2 separate regions of the Homo sapiens genome follow, and region 2 is linked to region 1. Evidence: promoter capture Hi-C in human tissues and cell types (Jung and others, 2019). All regions are on one chromosome and are shown on one strand. The core of a region is centred on a gene start or on the middle of the fragment in contact, and the rest is flanking DNA. Distances in the headings are between cores, read along the strand shown. Region 1 holds the start of EDNRA (endothelin receptor type A). Region 2 has its middle 55 kb from the start of MIR548G.

What was found. Contacts are between HindIII fragments. The study calls those that stand out against the background at their distance.
Region 2: a fragment that was not itself captured here is called in contact with the fragment with the promoter of EDNRA in region 1 in 5 of the 25 tissues and cell types used here (H1 embryonic stem cells, heart left ventricle, hippocampus and 2 more).

What each region holds. Positions count from the first base shown.
Region 1 is chr4:147,478,216-147,484,926 of GRCh38, reverse strand. EDNRA (endothelin receptor type A) reads right to left here and starts at 3,830. Exons shown (of 8, transcript NM_001957.4): 1 at 3,551-3,830. RefSeq lists enhancers at 2,931-3,010, 3,041-3,140. The HindIII fragment of the contact is 3,954 bases long and covers 1,578-5,531 here.
Region 2 is chr4:147,396,235-147,402,945 of GRCh38, reverse strand. No RefSeq gene overlaps it. Among named protein-coding and RNA genes, the nearest start is that of MIR548G, 55 kb to the right of the region's middle. The HindIII fragment of the contact is 5,004 bases long and covers 1-4,898 here.

The sequences.
Region 1 (6,711 bases), core at 2,581-5,080:
GAAATGTTAATGAGAACTCTGGTTAACACCATTAACACATCTAACAATTTTAGTTTCAATTAAGAATGAAATAATTGATAAAAACATTTGTTTTGAAAACCTTGATGATTAATGTGTAAAATCTAAATTTTTTACAGGAGTTTTTTTGCTTTTTCATTTCTCAGAAATTATCATCACAATACGGTATTTGCCGATGAATGAAATGGGAGTAATGAACTTTTCCAGGCTAGTCATAGTATTTTGGTTTCCAAGGGACACCTGTCCCCATGCTATCTTTTAACCATCCTATATAGCTACATTTATTTTATGCCAGTCACTGTACTCAGTACTATATGTGCATGATGCCCTGTAATCCATACAATGGTCCTGTGGGGTAGATCCACGGTTCAATTTTGAAGATAGGGAAACAGAGGCCCAGGAGGGTGAAGCAGCTTGTCAAGGCCACAGGTGATGGGTGGCAACACTGCGATTCTAAGGCAGGTCAGTCCAACTCTGAGCCGGAGCTGTTAACCACTAAACCATCCTGTCTCTCATTCTTGTGCTTTATTTGTATGTAAAATATTTTAAAGAAGTCTCCAGAGTTTAGATGAAGCAATAGACTCAGGAGGGTGGTTAGACATTTTCAAAGACCATCTGGTGTGGTTTATTTATTTATTTATTTATTTTTAAGTCACTTGCAGAGAGCAAGTGGTCCTTCCTGTCCAGGAAGTCTAGGAGACCTTAATAAGGAATAATCAAAGATAATTAAAAATAGCTCATCCTATTTCAATATTTTATATATTTCCTTTTCTGTAGGCTTTTATGAATCTTCAAATGAAGACATAATCTGATTTATGCGGTGGTGTGTGTACGTGTCTGTGATGTATATACCCAGGTCATAATTTAATCTTAAAAAAATTGAGTCCTGGTTGGGTGTGGTGGCTCATGTCTATAATCTCAGCACTTTGGGAGGCCAAAGCAGGAGGATCACTTGAGCCCAGGAGTTTGAAACTAGCCTGGGCAACTTAGTGAGACCCTGTCTTTACAAAACATAAAAAAGATTAGACAGGCATGGTGGCGTGTGCCTGTAGTCTCAGCTACTTGGGAGGCTGAGATGGGAGAATCACTTGAGTCCAGGAGGTTAAGGCTGCAGGGAGCTATGATCGAGTCACTGCACTCCATCCTGAGCAGCAGAGTGAGACCCTGTCTCAAAAAAAAAAAAATTAAATAAATAAAAAGTAAAAAATAAAATTGAATCCTTTTTCTGAGTGTATTCAAGGTTGATGTTAACCACTTTTAGGAATTTTGACAATTATCTTGGGAAATCAGTAAAGCTTAGGTTTGGCCAATACGTGGATAAAATAAGATTTATTCAAGTTGCATAGAAAGTATAGGGTATATATAAAGTGCGAGTATTGGATACTTTTGCCTTCCCCAGAGATTTCCCCCTGAACTCTGAAATAATAATAGTATTTACATATAGTAACTTATTATATATGTATCTGTTATCTGCCTTGAGCTTTACGACTCTAGGTAGGCAGGAGCAATATCTCCATTTTACTTATAAGGAAACCAGAGTCTTGAAGAAGTATTTAGGTCAAGGTTTCAAAGCCAAGAAATGGCAGGACACATAATTTTGCTTATAGGACTTGACTCACTCTGATTAAATGGGAAAAATATCAATTTTTCAAGGCTAGAGGCAGGCCATGTATTTGTCAGCTCTGACTAGACTTAATTATAAACAGTTTGCAGTTTTTTCCTGCTTCTTATAATCTGGAGTGAGTATCTGGCCAAAAATTGATAGACCTATGAAATGACACCATTTCCATTCCAAAGGGAACACCAGGACTCCAAGAGAAAAGCTTCTTGTCATCCTCCTTTTTGGATCACAGATACAGGGGGGAGAAGAAATACTTTCATATCTTGTGCTGTTTCGTGACTAACGTCTTCCAGCTTCCCAAATGAAAGGGAACCTTCAATAACAGCTTTCTTAAAAATGAGAGAGAGAAGGCCTTTGCAGAAATGGAATGGCTCTCTGCCGGTTACAGTCGGCTGGGAACTGACCTGTGAACTGACCTGGCTACGGTGGGTACTGCTCTACTCATCAGAGGTCCTGTGGTGCTTTGAACGTTAGCATGCTGGTCTGCTTGGTTAGCTGATTATGCCAGGAGGTAAGGCCAACGCTGTGGGTTCTTAAGGCATGAGAGCCAGCTATCATTAAAACCCCCTTCCTTCCTCCTCCAACAATGACACCACTACAGAAATCATTTCTGATGACTTCTCTATCAGCTCTCCACACATGTTAAGCTGCAAAACTAAGGGATACTTGGCAAAGGCCTGTGGATGTCATATTATCATTGGCTGAAAAGTACAAAACCAAATGAAAGAAGCCCCTCAACTGCAGGTTCTTCCAAGGTGGGTCTGTAGCTCATTTCCAGGAATCTGAGTCAGGCTGTGCTTTGAATCATCACTCATAATCAGTCATAGCGCTAGTGAAGCATCTCAGGTTCAGACCTGAAGGACATGGTCTATAGATTCAGCATTCTTCCTGTTTGGAATCTGAGAGTTTGGGGAGTGCAAAAACTATTATTAAGAAAGAGGACTGAATCCTTACGCTTACACTTTAACCATTTAACATATGAGACTCTCAGGATCAAAGTTCACCTGTAATTGGTAATTTGGAAATTCAGACCTTATCAAAATGGCATGAGTTTAGAGCATTCAATTTACATGAAATGACTGCCAAGGTGTTTCTCAATTAGCTAACACATAGACAACTACAGGTGGAGGAAAAAACAAGTAAAAGTAGGAACTTTTTACAAGTTTTCTGAGGTTTTGCTCTCTGGTTAAGAAATGAGCAACTCTCCTTAGAGACAACGCCTGAGTTTAATATGCCTCCCACCCCCAACTCTATCAGGGGAAAGCCATTAGGATGATGTAAACAGAGGGTGATTATCTAGAAGCAGCCCTTGTTTTCTGCACGTGAGAAGCAACAAGTGTCCTTTAAAGGCGAGCACAGAACAAAACGCCCAGACCTCCACAGGCAGGTTTCCAAAACTAGCTACACAGGGGGTTTCCCCAAACACCTCAGTCCCTCACACCGAGTGCCCTTGGCTACCCTTGGCATACCCAGACCCAGATGTGGGGGAGGAAAAGCAAGCCAGTAAGAAAAGGCTGTGGAGCCAACTTCACAAGAAGGCGCTGGAGCAAGCCACAGAGCTTGGCGTTCCTCAAAGTTCTTGCATGCCTGGGGAAAAGGGGTCACCCAGGGAAAACTATTGGGCTTCCTCTTCCTAAAACTCCGAATCCTAAACCCTAACGTGGAGAGGTGAAGTTCCCCGAACTCTACACGTGTCCGCAGCGCACCCCTCACGGAAGGCGCCCGCCTCCCCGCGCGCCCTGGGGCAAGTGGGTGCCAGCCCCTGCTGCGACGGGTCGCCCAAGCTGCAGGGCGGTCGGGCCAGAACGTTCCCAGCTCTCGTCTTCTCCCGACCGAGGGGCCCAGGCAGCGTCTCCGCCATCCCCGCACCCGCCCCAGTCCCAGTCCCCGATAAGAAAGACTTGCACCGACCGTGGAGCTCGGCGTGCGCAGACAGCTGCCGGGTCCGCGCGGCGCCTGGGCCAGAGGAAGCCGGAGCCGGCGAGGGTGGGTGGCGCGGAGGGTGGCCGGTGTCCCGGGCTCCGGCGCGGCGGCGGCTTCGGCTGCACAGCTTCCCCGGCTTCAGAAAACCTCCTGGGCACTGCTTCTCCCGGGGAGGTCTCGCTGGGACCCCAATCCCCGGCGACGACCGGGTGGGATGGATGAAGCCTCTCCACCGCCTCTCCACAATCGTCAGACCAGCGGGATGACTGTACGCGCGCGCGAGGGCTCGCACGAAAAAGAAAACTCCGGAGGAACACGCCTCCAGTCTGTCCTCCCCGTCTCCTCCCAAAGCTCCAGACCTTCCACTCCACTCTGGGACCGCAAGAGCGTCCTAACCTTCCAGCTATCCTGGGACGCGGCCACTAAAAAGCACAAAGCTGCCGCCCCCTTCCAGGCCCTGAAGGGCAGGAGTCTTTTTTAACTATTTCCTTCCTGAAAGAAAAGGTGGGGGATGTGGAGGAGAGAGGGTAGAGTTTGACAGACAAGACTCAGAATTCCGAAAGGCCTTGCAGAGGAACCCATCCTCTTAGTGCAGGCAGATTTGATCTGTGACGGAACAACTGGACACAGAGCCAGGGCCCACGGGTGGTTTCTTCTCCGTCTTCCCTGCCGCCTTTGCTTGGCTTGCGTGCTCCCTCTTAAGCTTAGAGGCCGTTGAGGAGCCGAAGTGGACAGCAGTTTACTGGATCAGGTGGTTTGCTTCTATCTTGTCCCTTGTAGCCAGCATCCCACGGCTACAGACCTCCAGCCCAGGGCAAAGAAGGAGCCTCAGGAGAGACTATGGAAGGTTCCAGCGCGTGGCTCCGTGAAACCTCAAGAAATTCAAACAATGAAGAAGCCGACCTTACAGAAAGTGGGTCTCAACGTCTTTATCACGGCAGATACTTTATCCTAAATTGGGGGTGGGAGAGGAGATGAGGGACAAAGGCCACTGCCTGTGACATGTGAGTAAAAACTGGGGTCTCCTCAGGGAAGGCCTGCCTTGGAGTCCTTCAGTGCACTGCTAGAGTCAGCACATGGTAGAAGTGTGAGGTTGGAGCACTGGTCATGTTATATCCCATGCTGTTCCGGCTATCTGCTGCAGCTAAACAAATTACTATAAAACGTAGTGGCTTAAAATAACAACACTCATTTACTCTGCTTATCAGTCTGCAGTTTGGGCAGAGCCTGTCTGGGACAGCTCGTTTTTGCTCCATGTAGCAGGGGCTGGAGGATCCACTTCCAAGACAGTTCACTTGCTTGGTGTTGAGTGTTAGTTTTTCTCCACGTGCGTCTCTCCACAAAGACTTGTGGAGACTTGTGGTTTGGGCTTCCTCACAGCATGGTGGCGGGGATCCAAGAGTGAATGTCCCCAGAGACAGAAAGTGGAAGCTGCCAGTTTCTTAAGGGCTGGGCCCAGAAACTGGCACCGTGTCATTTCTGCTTGATTCTATTAGTCAAGCAGTCACAAATCCCAGATTGAAGGTGAGGGTATATAGAGCCCAACCCTTAGTGTGAGGAGTGTCAAAGAATTTAGGGACCATTTTGTAAAACCATCAAAGAGATCTACAGAAAACCACCATTGAAAGAGGCCTTAATAGTCATCTAGTAGGGTTAGACTAGATATTACCCTGTTCACTAATCTTACAGCTTCTCTAGGAGGGAGAATCAGCCAACCAGAATAACTAATAGCTTTTATAAGTGCCATTGTTTATATTAAAAAAAGGTGACCCTTTGGGCATGTGGCTTGGCAAGCTGACAATATTTTCGGGAAAGAAAAACTTACTGCTTCCTCCCAAAAGAGGCAGTTCACATCTTGGCCCGTGAAACATGTGCTGGATTTCAGCCCTTATTCACTCTGTGGCCAGACACACTTGGACAGTGCATCACCTGCATATCTGAATATGTCAATCTGTCCAGTCTTTGCTAGAACACATTCATCATGACCCACCTATTGAGACAGCTGATCTCACTGTGGTGTAGGACTAGTTACTAAAAATTCTTCCTTCACACCTATTAGGATAGCCATTATAGTAAAACAAAAGCAAAAACAGCAAAGAACAAGTGTTGGCAAGAATGTTGAGAAATTGGAACCCTTGTGCATTGCCAGTCTGAATGTAAAATATAGTGTAGCAGTTGTGGAAAACAGCATGGCAGCCCTCCAAAAATTAAACATAAAATTACCCTATGATCCAGCAATTCTACTTTTTGGTACTTACCTAAATAATTGAAAGCAGAGTCTCAAACAGATATTTGTACACCCATATTCATAGCAGCATTATTCAGAAAAGCCAAAAGGTGAAAACTAGCCAAAAGATGGAAACAATCCAAATATCCATCAGTGGAAGAATGGATAAACAAAATGTGGTATATACATGTATGTATATGTATATAAATACATGTACATAACACAGAACATTATTCAGCTTTAAAAAAGAATGATATATGCTACCACATGGATGAACGTTTAAGATATTATGTTAAGTGAAATAAGCCAGACATAAAAGGAAAGATAGATATTTTATTATCCCACTTAGATGAGGTACCTAGAATAGTTAAATTCATAGACACCGAAGGTAGAATAGTGATTACCAGGGGCTTGGAGGTGCCGAGGGGAGAATGGGGACTTACTGTTTCATACGTTTCAGAGATTTAGTTTGGGATGATGAAAAAGTTCCAGTGACGGATGGTGATGAGGGTTGCACAACAATGTGAATGTACTTAATGCCAATGAACTGTACACTTTGAAATGGTTAAAATGGTAAATTTATGTTATGTATCTTTTACCGTAATCAATTCTTCCTGACATCAAAATGAAATCTGCCTCTATACGTTACCTGTTGATCTGCCCTCTAAATTCATAAAATGAGTTTACTGTCTCTTTTAAGATCTTTAAACATAAGTAAGTGTATTTATGTGAATAATCAGCATAGACCTGCCTTTGTAAGAGAATAGGATTGCCTCATTCTAGATGAGAACAACATAAATGTTCTTTAGCTGTTGGAGATTTATATCCTCATTTTCTCAGCTTTACTTGGGGCAAATGACTTCAGGGGACTCGAACCAGTTTTTAGTCAAGTTAACTTTACCTCCAGTTACCTTTCTCCCCA
Region 2 (6,711 bases), core at 1,147-3,646, 81 kb after region 1:
ATATTCCCAATAAAGGTCTTATATTTAGTATACTCAAAGAACTACAAATCAATAAGAAAAACATAAACAATTTAGTATAAAAAGATTTGAAAAGATAATTAAAAAAAGAAGTTTAGATGGCCAATAAACATCTAAAAAAGTGATCACCTCATTAGTAATCAGGGAAATGCCAGTTAAAATCACAATGAGATAGCACTATATACCCAATATGACTGAAATTTAAAAAACAAAGACCTTTCAAACAGAGCTGGTGGGTGCGTAATCAGTACAACCATTTTGCAAGAACAAATTGACATTGTCTTCTAAACTTGAGGATATGGTGGTCTCTATGATTTAGAAATTCCACTTCTGTTGAAATGCATGCACATATGCTTCTAAACAGAAGTCCAAGAATACTCATAGCAGCTTAATTTATTATACTCCCAACAAGGAATATGCCAAGTTTCCACTAACAGAGAAATGGACACATGAATAGCACATATATGTAGAATGAAACATTATTCATTAGAGAAAATGAAGGAACTACAGCTAAAGGGACAACATAAACAAATTACACCAATATAATATTGAACCAAAGGATCCATTCTCACAAAAAATTACATACGATGTGATACCATCTTTATAATGTTCAAGAATAGGCAACACTAAACTGTGGTGTTTAAGGATGTACTTAGATGATAAGACTATAAAGAAAAGCAAATAAATAATTAACAAAATCAGAAAAATGTTTCATTTAGGTTGGGTAATGGGATTGATTGGGAATGGTACATATATATTTGTTTTATGCAATTTTCTTTATGTGTATTGTATTTCACAATATTAAAGTAAAACAAAACCGTTGGTTAGACTCTTCTCTGAAGACAGTGAAACTTTTTACCCCTATTGAGCAGGACTCCTTACTTTGTAAACTCATGGTCAATGAATATAACATAGACTTTCCAGTTTATCTTAAAGAGATGTATTTTGAAGCCCAGGAAATGGACCTTCATTCAGACATAATGCTTATTTGAATAATTCTTTGGGGTTTATCACAATGTTAAAAATTTTGTTTTCTGGATAAATGAATTAATGAATGGAAAGGTACCCAGTGTAAGAATATAGTATGGACACAAGAAAGACAGCAGAATGTGTAATGAGTTGCTAATACTTTGTTTCTTTCAATGGGGACAATTGGAATTCCATGCTGTCTACTTCAATTTTTTTCTACTCTGTATTTACAAAAGAAGGTATAAAAATTTGAAAAGAGTTGAATGGACTCTTAAGGGTCATTTGATCCTTCTAATACTAATAGACAACCCATGCCAGATGGCTGTGCACCTTATGAACAGTGCCTTTGAGGCTGTCTATTTCTTCTCTGGATAGCTTTAGGTATTTCCATCTTTTTTTTGGCATAAAGCTGCATTCTATCCCTGGGTTTTTAACCGAAAGTGTCTTTGAAGATATGAGGAAGAAACACCCTTACAATGAGGACATTTTTGGGAAAAGGCTTAATGCTTTTCTTTTAGCATTATTTATGTAGAAGCCCTGTGAGCATAAGGTCCTTGAATAGCTTGTTCACAACTATGTGAATTACTCAAAATATCAGATGCTCCGTAGAGTTGAATGACCGAATTTTTAACTTCGGTGGGAATATAGACTATCACATTGATGTGTACCTTCCCATTCTAATCGTTCTGATGTTTAATAAAAGCTATATGATTCAGCAGGGTGTTCACCTGAAAGGCAGGGTAGGTTTTGTATTTAGTCACAAATACACACACATATAAAGAGGTGACAGGGAACCAAACACATTCTTCTAGGTTTAGTGGAAGTCCTCTCTGTAGAAAAATTCGGCCAAGTATACAGAGGCTCCTGTCCTATTGCTCATTTGGTTTCAGTTCAAGACAGAGCAGGAGAGTTATTATTTGACCTCCCAAATCCCTAGTAATACACACACACAAAACGTAATTACATATACCCCTCCCAATGCAGTGTGCTGTCTAAAACTGTAACACTATGAGTGGTCATCTAAATTAATGAGCATTTTTGTGATGACCACTCATGAAGTTGGCCTGCTAGTGAGGGAGAACAGCTGTCAGTTACTCTTCTCTTTTCTTAACAGTATATTAAGCGAAATGTAATTAACTTCCAAAGAACAAAGTTTCATAAAGTATTGAAAATATTTTTGATATCAATTTTATAGGTCATATCTGTTTAATCTAGACTCTGAGTTTTCCCTTTAAAATATGTATATATACACACATTTATACATATATATGCACAATACTTTTAAAACTTCGTTTTATTTGTTACACAGTAGTTCTACGCTCTTTTATTACATGTTCTCTCCCTCTTATCGAGATAAATTTGTAGTAAACTCTGAGTCCTGACATTAATAAAGAGAAAGTTTTATTGTGAAAAACTCAGTTATTTGAAATATGTTCTGTTAATATGTTTTTGTTGAAGTGATAGCCAGGAACTTACACATTATTGTTAAATTTAAATTATCCACAAGCCTTGATTCTGCTTTAAGAGAAGCTTTTTGTTCTCTTTCTCTTCTCTTCAACCATAAAAGTTAATATCTTAAAAATTTTCTGTAGCCTACAGAAAGACACATATTGCATTTTCTCATTTAAATGAAGCAGGGGGTAAAATGTTGGTTGGTTTCTACCTCTTTCTACAGTGTATACATATATCAAACATCATATTGTACCCTATAAATAAATACAATGATTATTTGTCAATTAAAAAAAAAAGGAGCAGTTACCTCTGAGTAGAGGGAGAGTATTGGCTAGGAAGGTACATGAGGAAAGCTTGTAGGTTGACGAGAATGTTCTGTATCTTGAGCTGGGTGGTTACTAGGCTATATGTGTACATAAAAATTCATCAATCCGTATGCTAAGATTCGTGCTCTTTACTATATGTGTATTATACATTCCTTTTAAATAAATTGGTAGATTAAAAAGTAAAAATAAAAATCTCCCTAGCCTAGAGCCAAAAGCAGTTTCAAGGTTTTTGACTCTCTAATTTTCCTTTCCAGTGTCCTCCTTTATGCAAATTTCCAGAGAAACATATATCAACTAACTCCTTTTTTAGCATATGTAAAAGACACCACTGTAAAGGGGAAAAGCATAGACAAGTTACAGGCTTACATGAGGTGGAAATTTCATTACAGCCAGAACTAGGCCTCATTTGACATGTTGTTAGGCTAAGCTTTTACCAGCTAAAGGTTAAGGGTATTAGAAGATAATTTAGGTCACCAAACTACCTCATTTCACCTGAATATTAGCTTACAGACAGGTAATAGCATTAGTCTCTAAATGGGGGCATGAGGCATGTTGAAGCTGGAGAAATCCATTCTGTAGAGGAACGATGCTAGATAATTAACATGTTTGACTCCTAGCCTACAATATAATGTATTTTAAATCCATATACTGCCTAAACGTTTTTCTGTGAGGAGGCAATCTGTCAAATTTGCCTAAATGTGATGACATTTAAATAGAAATGATATCTTTTAAATTTACTTTAGTAGGGTCATTACTATTTTTATATGCCAGTTGTTAAATCCTGAATGTTTTGCATTCTAAATAAAGAGAAATTTTAGTTTTTACATGATAATTTTATGTATGTGAACAGGCATTTTAGATAAATGGTAAATATTTAAATTTTCCTCTTCATAAAGTAGTAAAATGTATTATATATATGTATGCAACAATTTGAATGATAATGGTTTTCAACAAAAATTATAATTGGTTTTAAATAGGAGGGCATGTTTTGGCTTATTAAATTTCTATATGCAGTATTCAGTAAAGTAGAAATATTTTTGTCTCCATAAATTAAAAAAAGTCAGAGAGCCACTGTGAGTGGCTTTTCCTTAGGTAACAGGGATATCTTTCTAATTCAGTTTTCAGACATATTCGTTATATAACATGCTAATTTTCTTTGTTATCCTGACTGCAGATATGGCTTAGGAGAGGCCCATGCTATGGCCCAAACATCTTTACTTTTTCCCCTTAACTTCAGGTGTATTTGTCATAGACAGACAGACAGACAGACAGACACACACACACACACACACAGAGAAAGAGAGAGAGAGCATGCAAATGAGGAATTTACAGAAATTAATTGAGATTAAATAGAACCAAAGAATGTGAACGTGGGCCAAATGTAACATAAGTCTTAGCACATCTTGCTCAAGAATGTTGGAAAATCTGTAACTTCATTGTGTGATTAATATTTTGGTGATGGAGTTGCCATTAAACCTTTGAGGCTAATGAAAAATGGACAACAGCCCAGCGAACTGAGTGTGGGAATGTCCTCAGAAAGCAGGTTCTCCCTAAGAGAAGTTCAGAGGAGAATCTGAGATCAGCCTAGTGTGAGCTGTGTAATTGGTCAATGTTCTAAGCTGAGGACTGATCAGGGGATAGGCTTTGGGAGACAGTAGAAGTACTTCATGTTTATATAAAATCTTTTTGACTGCAAAGCTTAGAGATCAAGCTGTGACTTGTTGGAATGTGATGTGAAGTTTCATCTTTGTTTTCCTCAAAGTAACCGTGTGCTCACCTCTTTTCTTTTTCCCTCCCTCCCTCCCTCCCTCCCTCCCTTCCTTCCTTCCTTCCTTCCTTCCTTCCTTCCTCCCTTCTTTCCTCCCTCTCTCTTTCTTCCCTTCTTTCTTTTCCTTTCTTTCTTTGGAGACAGAGGCTGGAGTGAAGTGGCGCCTCCTCGGCTCACTGCAACCTCTGCCTCCCGGGTTCAAGTGATTCTCTGCCTCAGCCTCCCAAGTAGCTGGGACTACAGGTGCACACCACCATGCCTAGCTATTTCTTTTTTTTGAGATAGGGGTTTTGTCATGTTGGCCAGGCTGGTCTCAAACTCCTGACCTCAGGTGATCCACCTGCCTCAGCCTCCAAAAGTGCTGGGATTACAGGCATGATCCACCATCCCAGCCTCAACTCTTTTGTTTCTCAATGACTATTTGTGAAAAATACAGGGAGTCTCTAGGGTTTAGTAAAATGACATATTTCATAGTTTGAAACAGTCAAAAATAGTCTTTTCCTAATATTCTTAGAGTTGTTCTATTTAGTTCTTCAGCACTTGATCAAGAAATATTTAAGTGACAATGGTTTGCCCAGAGTAACTTTTCTCAATTTTCTAAATTTTAAGTTTCAAGGATTTGATGTGTTTCTCAGACAGTATTTATAGAAAATTATTCTTTGATGCTATTTGAGGTATTAGTTATACTTTTGCCATCTTATATATTTAATTCAGATTACAATCATTTGTCAACAGCATCCTTTGATTAATCTTTTGGGCGATGGGTATAATTGAAATTTCTAAGGTCAATTCTTTGTAAGCTTGAGTCACTTAACCTTTTTTCTTTGTTGTTTACTCATTGTCATTATTTTTATTAGGCAGTCCCTGAACCAGAATAGGTTCAGAAATCTCCCATTTACTTGTTTTTAATTGTCAGGTAAAAATTATATATGTTTATTGCATACAACTAAAATTTATATATGTTTATTGTGTACAACCAAATGTTTTGAGATATGTATTCATCGTGAAATTACTAAATTGAGCTAATTGACATATGTATTACCTCACATACTTGTCATTTTTTTGTGATGAGAACACTTAAAATCTGCTTTCTTAGCAATTTCCAAGAATACATTTCTTTGTTATTAACTATAGTCATCATGTTGTACAATAGATTTCTTGAACTTATTCTTTTTATGTAACTGAAACTTTGTACCCTTTGACCAACATCTCTTCAACCCATCCCTTCCCCTCAGCCTTGGGTTACCACCATTTACTCTCCACTTCTATGAGTGAGATCATGAAGCATTTGTCCTTCTGTGCCTGGCTTGTTTCACTTAGCATATTTCATCCATGTTGTCCCAAATGACAAGATTTCCTTCTTTGTTAAGGTTGGAGTCACTTAACATTTACTGAGTGCTCCCTGAGTATTTTAAACCTACCTAAGTTAAATTTAGAAAGCTGGACAACTGAAAGACTCTTGTTTTGAGTGGAACCAAAAGATTTCCTCACCTCAAAAATGAGACCGTGGACTTTGGTCTCGTACCCCTTCTCCTCTCCAGTTTACAAGGCATGTTTTTCTACATTAACTGTGGTGGAAAGTTTTCTAGTGAACTTTATCTGTGTAACTGGTAGAAAGTGCAAAGATAAGAAACAAAGCCAAAACACTCTTTCCCCATGGAAAAATCCTCCTCCAGCATTACCTTGTTTGTGAAACACTGCTTTACAAGGTATTGAATTAAGAGCTCGCTGGGCTACAGTTCAACACAGCACACTGCATGATGGCCATGTTCCATGTGAGACATTTTGGTGGAATCTTCCTTATGGGAAGACAGCATGGGATGGTGTCAAGTACACAGGCCTTACTATCTCTGTGACCTCAGACAAACTACTCACTTGCTAAGGAGCCTCCATTTTGACATTGGTGTATAATAATCAGGGTTCTCCAGAGAAACAGAATCAATAGGATATATAAAATAGGAAATTTATTATGGGAATTGGCTCAAATGATCATGGGAGCGGAGAAGTCCCATGACTTACCATCTGCAGGCTGGAGAATGGGAAAGCCAGTTGTGTAATTCAGTCTGAGTTTGAATGCCTGAGAACCAGGAAGCCAATGATCTAACTCCAAGTCTGAAGGACTGACAACACCAGGTGGGCTGGGAGGGTGTACACTGTGTCAGTTCCAAAGTCCAAAGG